2 separate regions of the Homo sapiens genome follow, and region 2 is linked to region 1. The links are contacts of gene promoters, found by promoter capture Hi-C in blood cells and fetal thymus (Javierre and others, 2016). All regions are on one chromosome and are shown on one strand. Each heading gives the region's core, a stretch centred on a gene start or on the middle of the fragment in contact. The rest is flanking DNA. Distances are from core to core; before and after follow the strand shown.

Region 1 (4,330 bases), core at 815-3,314:
GAAGCTATCACCTGAAGCCAGGTGAGAGATAAGCCCTGAACTAAGGCCCTGGCCATGGGGATAGTTGCAGACTTGAGGGCTAATTGAGAAGTACAATTCCAAAGGTCCTGGCATCTGATTAGCTATGCAGGATAAGAATAGTCTAGACTGATTCCCTTTGGGGCAACTGGCCAGATGATGGTGCCATTTGCTGAGGTAGGAAACCATGAGAGCAGGTGCAGGATTATGGAGAAGATGATGACCTTCAGGTCAACCATGCTGCCACCAGTGTGCACACCTTTAGGCCCAAAGGTTGGCCAAGAGGTATGTGTTTGCAGCTGGGTAAGTGTGGACAGAGTTTGGATCTATGAACTGGGGGGAAAGAGATCCAAATACATATACCTGAGGTTGAGTGTAGGCTAGAGCCTGAGGGGGAAGAGACGGGGACCAGTAGCAAGCCCGTGGCTGGAGACCAGCTCTCCTTATCCCACTATGTTCCAGCATAGAACTCCAAGAAATCTGAGAATCAAGACTGTTTCTGTTGCAAGTGGCAGAACTCCAATTAAAATTAGCTTGAGCAAGAGAAGAAATGCATCAATTCCTGTAACTGAAATCAGGAATCCATTGCTCGCCATCTCCCTGCTCTGCTTCCTCTAGGCTGGCTTCTGTCTCAGCCAGGTTCCTGCTTTGCAGTGCCAAGCTAACACTCAGCAGCTCCAGGCTTATATTCTACCAGCTCAGCAACTCAGCAGAAAGAGAGCTAACTTCCAAAGTTTTAGAAAAAGTCCCAGAGAGGGATCTCATGCCCATCCTTGAACATCCTTGATTGCTGTGGCCAGAGTGAGGAACACAAAAGTTGGCTAAGCTGCAAGCCTACCCCCAAGAGGGGTGACATCAGACCCACATGACAATACAGACTGAGGAGATGGTTCCCCAAAAGAAAATCAGGGTGCTATTACCAGAAAAGGCGAGTGGATGCTGAGCAGACACCCATCATAGATATGCTGAGTTTGAGGTGCTATATAGCATTGTGGGTGATATCCAGTGGTCTCAGGTTGGAGAGAGATGTCCCAATGGAGGTATAGCTTGAGAAATCACCTGAGGACTTTATGATGGTAGTTGGGTGGGCAGATGAGTTTCCTCATTGGATTGTGGAGAGAAAGAATGACCAGGCCGGGCGTGGTGGCTCACGCCTGTAAATTCCAGCACTTTGGGAGGCCAAGGCAGGCGGATCACGAGGTCAGGAGTTGGAGACCAGCTTGGCCAGCATGGAGAAACCCCGTCTTTACAAAAAATACAAAAAATCAGCCGAGTGTGGTGGCAGGCGCCTGTAATTCCAGCTACTCTGCAGGTTGAGACAGGAGAATTGCTTGAACCCGGGAGGCGGAGTGTGCAGTGAGCCGAGATCGCGCCACTGCACGCACTCCAGCCTGGGTGACAGAGTAAGACTCCGTCAGGGGAAGAGGGGATGTGCCGGGGGAGGAGAATGACCAGATCAGAGGACCAAGGAAGAGACCCAGGGGTAGAGAGACTCCACCATTTCATGGCAAGGCAGAAAGGAGCCTTGATCAGGAGGAGAAACGGGGATTTAGGAGTTGGGGACTAAGTGGACCTTAGCATTGGGCACTTGGACTACAGAAAGGCCCAGGACTCAGGGTGTCGCGTCCCCAGGAGGAGGAACTGGAAAGGCAATGCCCAACCCCCTAACTTCTAGACGTCTGGCCCCTGTAGTCTCCCGCCCCTGGCCTCGCCCCTCGTTCCTAGCTTGTTTGCCACCTAGTGTCTCTCCCGGGAGCAAGAGTCCTCAAAGTTACATCATGTGCGGCTGGGAGGGCGGTGGCGGATGGGGGGCGGGGCCTCGAAGTCGGGGGCCGAAGAGTGGACCCAGTCCTCCAATGGGAGAGATGGGTTTGGCGGTTTGGAGGCAGGGGTTGGGGCGGCGGCTGGGCTGACCTGGAGCCTGGAGCCCCGGGGCCGAGGGAGCTGGCCTGCCAGCGGGGCGGAGGAAAGCTAGTGCCAGCCCTACCAGGTTCCGCCCCCGCGCCTGCCCCCCTCCTTTTTAAGCGCCTCCCGCCAGCCTCTGCTGTGGCTCGCTTCGCCGCGCTCCCTCCTTCCCCGCCTTCCATACCTCCCCGGCTCCGCTCGGTTCCTGGCCACCCCGCAGCCCCTGCCCAGGTGCCATGGCCGCATTGTACCGCCCTGGCCTGCGGTGAGTGACCCCCGGCCCGGGGCCCACCCGCACCTTCCGCTGCGCTCGCCCCCTCGGGGCTGCCAGTGGCGCTCTCCTGCTCTCAGCCTCCGCCAGGTTTCCCATCCTAGGCGGAGGCGGGCAGGGGCGACTGCTGTGGGTCCAGCCTCCCGCGCCGCGCGTCTCTTGGGAGGGCAGCCGGCCGGTGCTCCTCGTTTCCGCCTGCACCTCCCCTTCTCTGCCTCGCTCGCCTCTGACCGCGCGATCTCTATCTGCCACTCTCAGAACTTCCTCTCTCTCCTCGCTCCTCTCTGCTGAGCCAGGTCTCCGCATATCCTCCTTTCCTTCCCAGATACCTCCCTCGGACCTCTAACGGGCTCTCAGCCAGCGCCCCAGGGTACTTCGAGAGGCAGCAGGGCCCTGGGGACAAGGGTACGTGAGCCCCGGGAGACTAAGCTCAGAGCCCCCTAAAGAAGGTGGAAGGTTAAATATCCATTCCCGGCCTCTCCCGGACTGGAAGGACTGGAACCTGGCGGGAAGTCCAGAGCAGCCCGAGGGACCTGGGCCCAGGGGAGGGAGGCAAGCAAGGTGGGAGGAGGGCGCCAAGTTGCCTTCGTTTCTTACATAGCTGGCTTCTTCCTCCGTCCAGGCCTGGAGCCCCCAGGCTCGTCCTGTTTGTCTGCCTGTCCTCTTAGTCTCCTATTTATTCTCTGAGGCCTCTCTTCTCAGCTTTTGTCCCAGAGTCGGAAGTGACCCACATCTGTCGCACAGCCCGTTCCACTTGGGCAGCCCTTGTGGGTGGTCTCTGAAGGAAACGTCCCACTTAGAGGGCTGCAAGAGGGTGTGGGGGCTTCACAAGAGATAACGTGAGCCAGGCTCCAGGGAGAGAGAGGCTGTCCTCAAGACTGTGTGCTTGAAAACTGATGCTCACGGAGAACTTCCCTCTGAGGCAGGAACAGACCCAGGTCCCAGTAGCCCTCCTCCCCTGCCCCTGGGGCCACACTGATCATCTATCCTGCTTTAGCGGAAACCACCCCAGCTTCTACCCCAGACAGACTCAAGCTCCCGTATCCATGCTCTGAGCTTTCTTCCTTCCCCAGGCTAACACCCTCTGAGTCTGAGCTGCCAGCAAGCTGCTGTTCCACCCTCCCACCAACACCAAAGCTCTCTAGGCATGTGGCCTCTAGGAAGAAGAGCCAGGGGAAGCACGGGGTCACGTGGTCCTGGGTGTGGGGGCAGTTTCTGATGGGCGAGGCCTTGATAGAGGAGGAGAGTAACATCCCCTTCATGGTCTTTGCTCTCTCGGGTTTACTCCACCTTGAGTCCAGGCCAATCAGAGCAGACGTTGCTTCTCTGTCTCCCAGGGCCATGAGAGGACAGACAACAGGACGCTGACCTCCTGAGAATTAAGCCCATGAACCCCAGCCAGTGACACTCATTCCCCAGTGGTCAACCTTCCGCAGAGTTCAGAAATACTTACCCGAGGGCAACATTTTATGCAACCATTGTTGGTCCAAGTGGGCAGCAGCAGATCAGGGCCTGGAAGCCCAGCATCCAGTCACCTATTCTCTGTGCAAGAGCCCTCATCTAGAAACCTGGCACTGGAAAGACTGTGACCTTTGCTTGGGGCTTTCATAGTCTTACAGCATACACACCAGAAGGAAAGAATAAACACAGCTGCCATTTTAATTTATAAAAAACTATACTTGAAAATGGAAATAAAATGGATGAGGCTTCAAATACCAGACATATGAAATTGTCACCTGGGCCCAACTTCTTGTCTTGACACTTGGGCCAAAGGCCCCTACTCATTTCTTTTTTTTTTTTTTTTTTTTTTTTTTTTGAGACAGAGTCTTGCTCTGTCGCCCAGGTTGGAGTGCAGTGTCCCGATCTCGGCTCACTGCAACCTCCACCTCCCGGGTTCAAGCGATTCTCCTGCCTCAGCCTCCTGAGTAGCTGGGACTAGAGGCACACGCCACCACATCCGGCTAATTTTTATATTTTTAGTAGATGGGGTTTCACCATGTTGCCCAGTATGGTCTTGATCTCCTGACCTCATGATCCACCTGCCTCAGCCTCCCAAAGTGCTGGGATTACAGGCATGAGCCACCGTGCCCAGCCATCTCCCTACTTATTTCTAAACGTTGATTAAACAGTTAAACA
Region 2 (4,330 bases), core at 659-3,158, 610 kb before region 1:
CACATGAGCACCTTACCTGTTTGGTTTTATCATGTGATGGTTTTGTCATGTGATAGCTTTATTCTGTAGAAGTAATTTACATCTCTGCCTCATTCTTTTCATCTTAGGGGACAGGGAAGAGAGTTTGACCAAGGTCTGTCTTTGCCTTAAAATCATTGTTTTGTTAGGATTTTATGAAGGCTTGGGGAAATGTCTATTGGGAATTCACAACAGTCTTCATAGATACCTTATTAGGAAAACTGTGTTTTGTTTGCAGGGGAGATTATTAGTGTGTCAATTTTCAGCACCATGGAGAGTTCAAACGCTCCTCATTCCTTGGTTTGGTGAATGGGACACAGCTAAACCATAGAGCTGCGTGGTGTAGACCTGCCCTTTTTCAGAGCCCAGTTTGTCCAGTCTCCAGTTCTGATTGGTACAGATTGGATGAGAGTCAAACACACCCCTGAGTGTCCCCCATCCTCCCTGGAATCTTTTAGGTCCATAAATCCCAGATTCATGCCAAGGATTTGGCTAACTTGATGGAGGTATGTGAGTGGAATCCTGCCTCCTGCTCCATTGGTAACATCATTTATCATTTATATTATGATACATGAAATTTTTACCAGCCCTTAAGAAAAACTCTGTTCCCTACTCATCTTTGCTTAGAGAACCTTGAGGGGACTTAAAGTTGCTTTTTCATTCCTTGGGCCTCGTTTTCTGCCTCTGCATGAGGAAAGGCATCAATGCTCTGGCTCTCTGCCCAGTCTTGCTTTTGTGTTTCTTTGATCTCATTGTTCAGAGGGTCTCAGAGAAGCCCCCAGAGCCATGCCTTTGCATGTTTAAGCTATTGATGCTTTTGAGATGACAGAGCGTCGCTGTGTAAGAAGTGTATTAAAGGTCTATCGTGAACAAACTTGGGTCAATAGGTGGCAGTAGTCACTGAGTCCTGAGGCCCTGACACCCCCTAAACACAAACACATTTGATGGCCATTATATTTAAGGAAGGATGTGAGAAAGGAGGTCACATTGAGATTAAAACGGGGAGAAAAGCAATCCTTTTTGGTGGAATCCAGGAAATGCTGAAATGTGCTGGATTACATCTGTGGGAGTGTTGTGTGGGGTGTAGGGGAAGATTGCTGTCAGCTAGTGAAGGGCACTGATTGGAAACAGCAGAGCCTCAGGATTGGGGGAACAGATTCATTCATCTAAGATGTAGGTGCTAAGGTTTCTTCCAGCTAGAGTAAGCATGTGTTAAATGAGGACCAGCACTGAAAGGACAGAGTGGGGTTGGAGTGAGTAGAGATACAAGTAGGGGAAGGAGGGGCAGAACTGTGTGACGGGACCGTGGAAAGGGTGGGCTGTGAAGGGGAGGACTGCGGTTAGAGGGGGAGGGGGAGGCTGCTGCAATACTGAGCCTATCTAATGGGGGAGGGGAGGGGGAGATATTGGTGTGTGCTGCAGCTGCATTACTTCCCCTCCCCCACACTTCCCAAGAAGCCAGAGCAGTGCTGGCAAATCTGTCTTCATGTATTTATTATTATTAAAAATGTGACAGATCCTTCCTCCCTGGAAGCACAACAAATACTACTGATCACATTTCTCTCTCCCCTCCCTCTGCAGAGCTTTTGCATTCTCTCTTTCATTCCACCCTGTCCTCCCCCACTTGGTCTGTTTGGTGGGGGGAACCCTTCCCTTCTTTCCTTCTTAGACCTTGGTGGCTCCCTGGGGGTTTCTAATGGTGGTTGGGAGTTTTGAGGCAGTGCTGGGAGGAAGCAGCTGAGTGAGGGGCATTCATGGCCCCAGGGAGGCAGCTGTATTCTCTTATATCCAGTGGGGAGAGGAAATCACTTGGAAATAAAGATAAAAATCCTTTCTCCAGGTAATGAAATAAGCAGGTGCTCACATTCCTTTCAGTACCTGGTGTTCCTCCCTCTTCATATTCTTCTCTTTTCTACTGCCTGAATTCTGAAGGGGAAACCCCCTTGTAATGGAAAAAGCCAGGAGTTCTCTGTCTTCCCTCCCTTACCTTAAGTCCCTCTCTTCCCAGGAAAGCCATATACTATTTATTCTTCTAGCCTGCATGTTGTGTAACCAAGAGATTTGAATGGCAAAAGCCATGGCTTCTTCCTCCCCACCTGCACCCCAGACTCCCATGCCTAGGCGGGAACCTCTTTTGTTGCAGCCTGTAGCCCTTCACCATACCCATAGGTGGTGCTGCTGTTGCTCTGCAGGCAGGGCCCTCCCGGCCAACATCATTCCTCCCCACCCTGTCGCCCTCCCCCTTTCCCCAGCCCTCTACTGCCTGATTGTTATTCCACCAACGTCTCCTCTACTGTTCCCTTCCTCAAATTAATTTTGTGGCGCTCTTTTTTCCGCAGTGCCATCTTCTTCCCCTCCCCCAGCTCCGGCTCTCTTGCTTTCTGTCTCTCTCTTTCTCTGTCTGCAGGATCTCCATCTCACTTCCCTACCTGAAATCTACACTCTTCCCTACTCCCTTTTTCGTTATCTGTTCTACCCCTGACATCTTACAGATGACTCTCCCAATGAAAGGGGGCTGTAGATGAGGGTGGCTTAGAAGAGAACAGGGTGAGGAGAACTGAGGGGTCAGTACCGAAGAGTAGGTGGGAGAATGACGAGGCTCTACAGGGGAAACATGATGGGAGACAGAAGATATCCTTTGCTGTCTGCATCTATTCAGTTCCTGGATTTGGATAAGGAGAGTTCACTTGGCAAGCGATCGATCCTGTGTTATCTGAATCTACAGATTTGGGTTCTACATGCTGGGAAAATGGGAGCTAGGGAATAGCAAGAATTCAGATAATAATGGCTCATCCAGAAACTTTTGGATTAGATTGCTAAGGATACCTCTACTTTCGTTATCCTGTGTTTTGAAGACTGGAGGAGATGTCCTGTTACTGATCTTTTGTGTCCTCAGAAGGTTCTTTCCAGGACAGTTGTGACACTTATGTGATGGACATCCTGGCTCTCTGGTCACTGCTGAGCACAATTCTGGCTGCAGGACCTTGGCTCACTCTTGTAGTCTGCCTCCTTTTTTTGTCATTCCATGTTGTTCCTTTATCACAGCTGAATTTACCTGGTTGCCCCATTCAGCCCACAGTGCCCTGTATTGCTTAGCCTTTCCAGAATATGCCCAAACTCTTTAGACTGTTAGCTCTTGCCTCATCTCGCTTCTTAACTTTATTTTGGAGACCTTTCATTGTGAGACCAGTACCCCACAACCAGCTAATTCAGCAGTGTTTTTTATTGTAAAGTTATCCAATTTCTAGGATGGCTAATTTTTCTCTTATTGGATTATTCTTTATGAATTAGTAGCATCCAGTTACTCCCTGGATGGTAGTGCTGAGTCTGACTTCTGTATATACTAGGAATAGGCCACAATATGGACCTCTTTCCTTGATTCCCTGGTGGGAGGAGATCTTCCTTAGCTTAAGTGGCAGTCCTAGAATGGCTGGCTTCCATTTCCTCAGCATGTGTAAGTCAAGACTGACTCCTGGACTATGGGGAGAGGCAGAGTTTGCCAGAGCCACAGTGAAAAGCAGGGACTAGAACACCAACCCCTCACCTTACTGTCTGGGCCATGGAAGTGCCTGTGGAGCCCTGTCTTCTTGCCTACCTCTCCTGCCTTCCTAAGGTGCATACATGAGTTGGTGGAGGCAGAGGCTGGTGGCCTCTTCATTTCCTCAGCTGATTTTCCTGTTTCCTTTCTTAGAGATCTTTCTTGCTGTATTCAGGGGACTGTAGTTAGGGTCATGGTTTCATGTAATGTAGACAGTGATCTCTGTTTAGGTCCCTCTTTTAAAAAGCAAGATCCAATAAATATTTGTTGCAGTGAATGGTAGAGACTTAGCTGCTTTAGCATCCTTTGGGAGAGCAGTAAATTGAGTTTTAACTATTTTTCTTTGTAGATACTTACATTGCTGTAGCTAAAATTGTTTGATTTTTGTTTTCTTTTGCTTACAGGCCCTATGGGGGAAATGATTTATCTAAGCCTATTCAAATAAGTCATTAGCAGAGCTGGTATTAGAATTTGTTTTCTCTCACATCCAGGTCTGACTTTTCCTTTACTACCCCTTAGAAACCAATGTCTCCAATTCATCCCCAGAGCCACTGGCAGCCTTGAAGGCAGCAACGTGGCCAGGTTTTGTGTCAAAAGCTGGCCTTGGTTGGCCTGATGCTGAGACAGCATCAGCAGCAAGACAGCCAGGGCATGTGGGCTTGGCTGGCTGGTTGAGGAATCTAGCTTGCTGGGATGGTATTAGCATTTCCGCAGGCCTTACACAGGCTAGCCTACTACAGGGGCCTCCAGAGTACCAAGGCAGGGAATGAATTC

Evidence for each region. Contacts are between HindIII fragments. The CHiCAGO score rates a contact against its expected background, and 5 or more counts as called.
Region 2: a fragment that was not itself captured here is called in contact with the fragment with the promoter of PCK2 in region 1 in 1 of 17 cell types (naive CD8 T cells); the score reaches 5.6 in naive CD8 T cells.

What each region holds. Positions count from the first base shown.
Region 1 is chr14:24,092,247-24,096,576 of GRCh38, forward strand. PCK2 (phosphoenolpyruvate carboxykinase 2, mitochondrial) reads left to right here and starts at 2,065. Exons shown (of 10, transcript NM_004563.4): 1 at 2,065-2,188. The coding sequence starts at 2,160. All of the region lies in intron 1 of NRL (neural retina leucine zipper), which reads right to left. RefSeq lists a silencer at 1,831-2,080 and enhancers at 2,088-2,737, 2,391-2,460. The HindIII fragment of the contact is 4,962 bases long and covers 1-4,330 here.
Region 2 is chr14:23,481,258-23,485,587 of GRCh38, forward strand. No RefSeq gene overlaps it. Among named protein-coding and RNA genes, the nearest start is that of NGDN, 14 kb to the left of the region's middle. RefSeq lists enhancers at 814-1,571, 1,572-2,328. The HindIII fragment of the contact is 5,436 bases long and covers 1-4,330 here.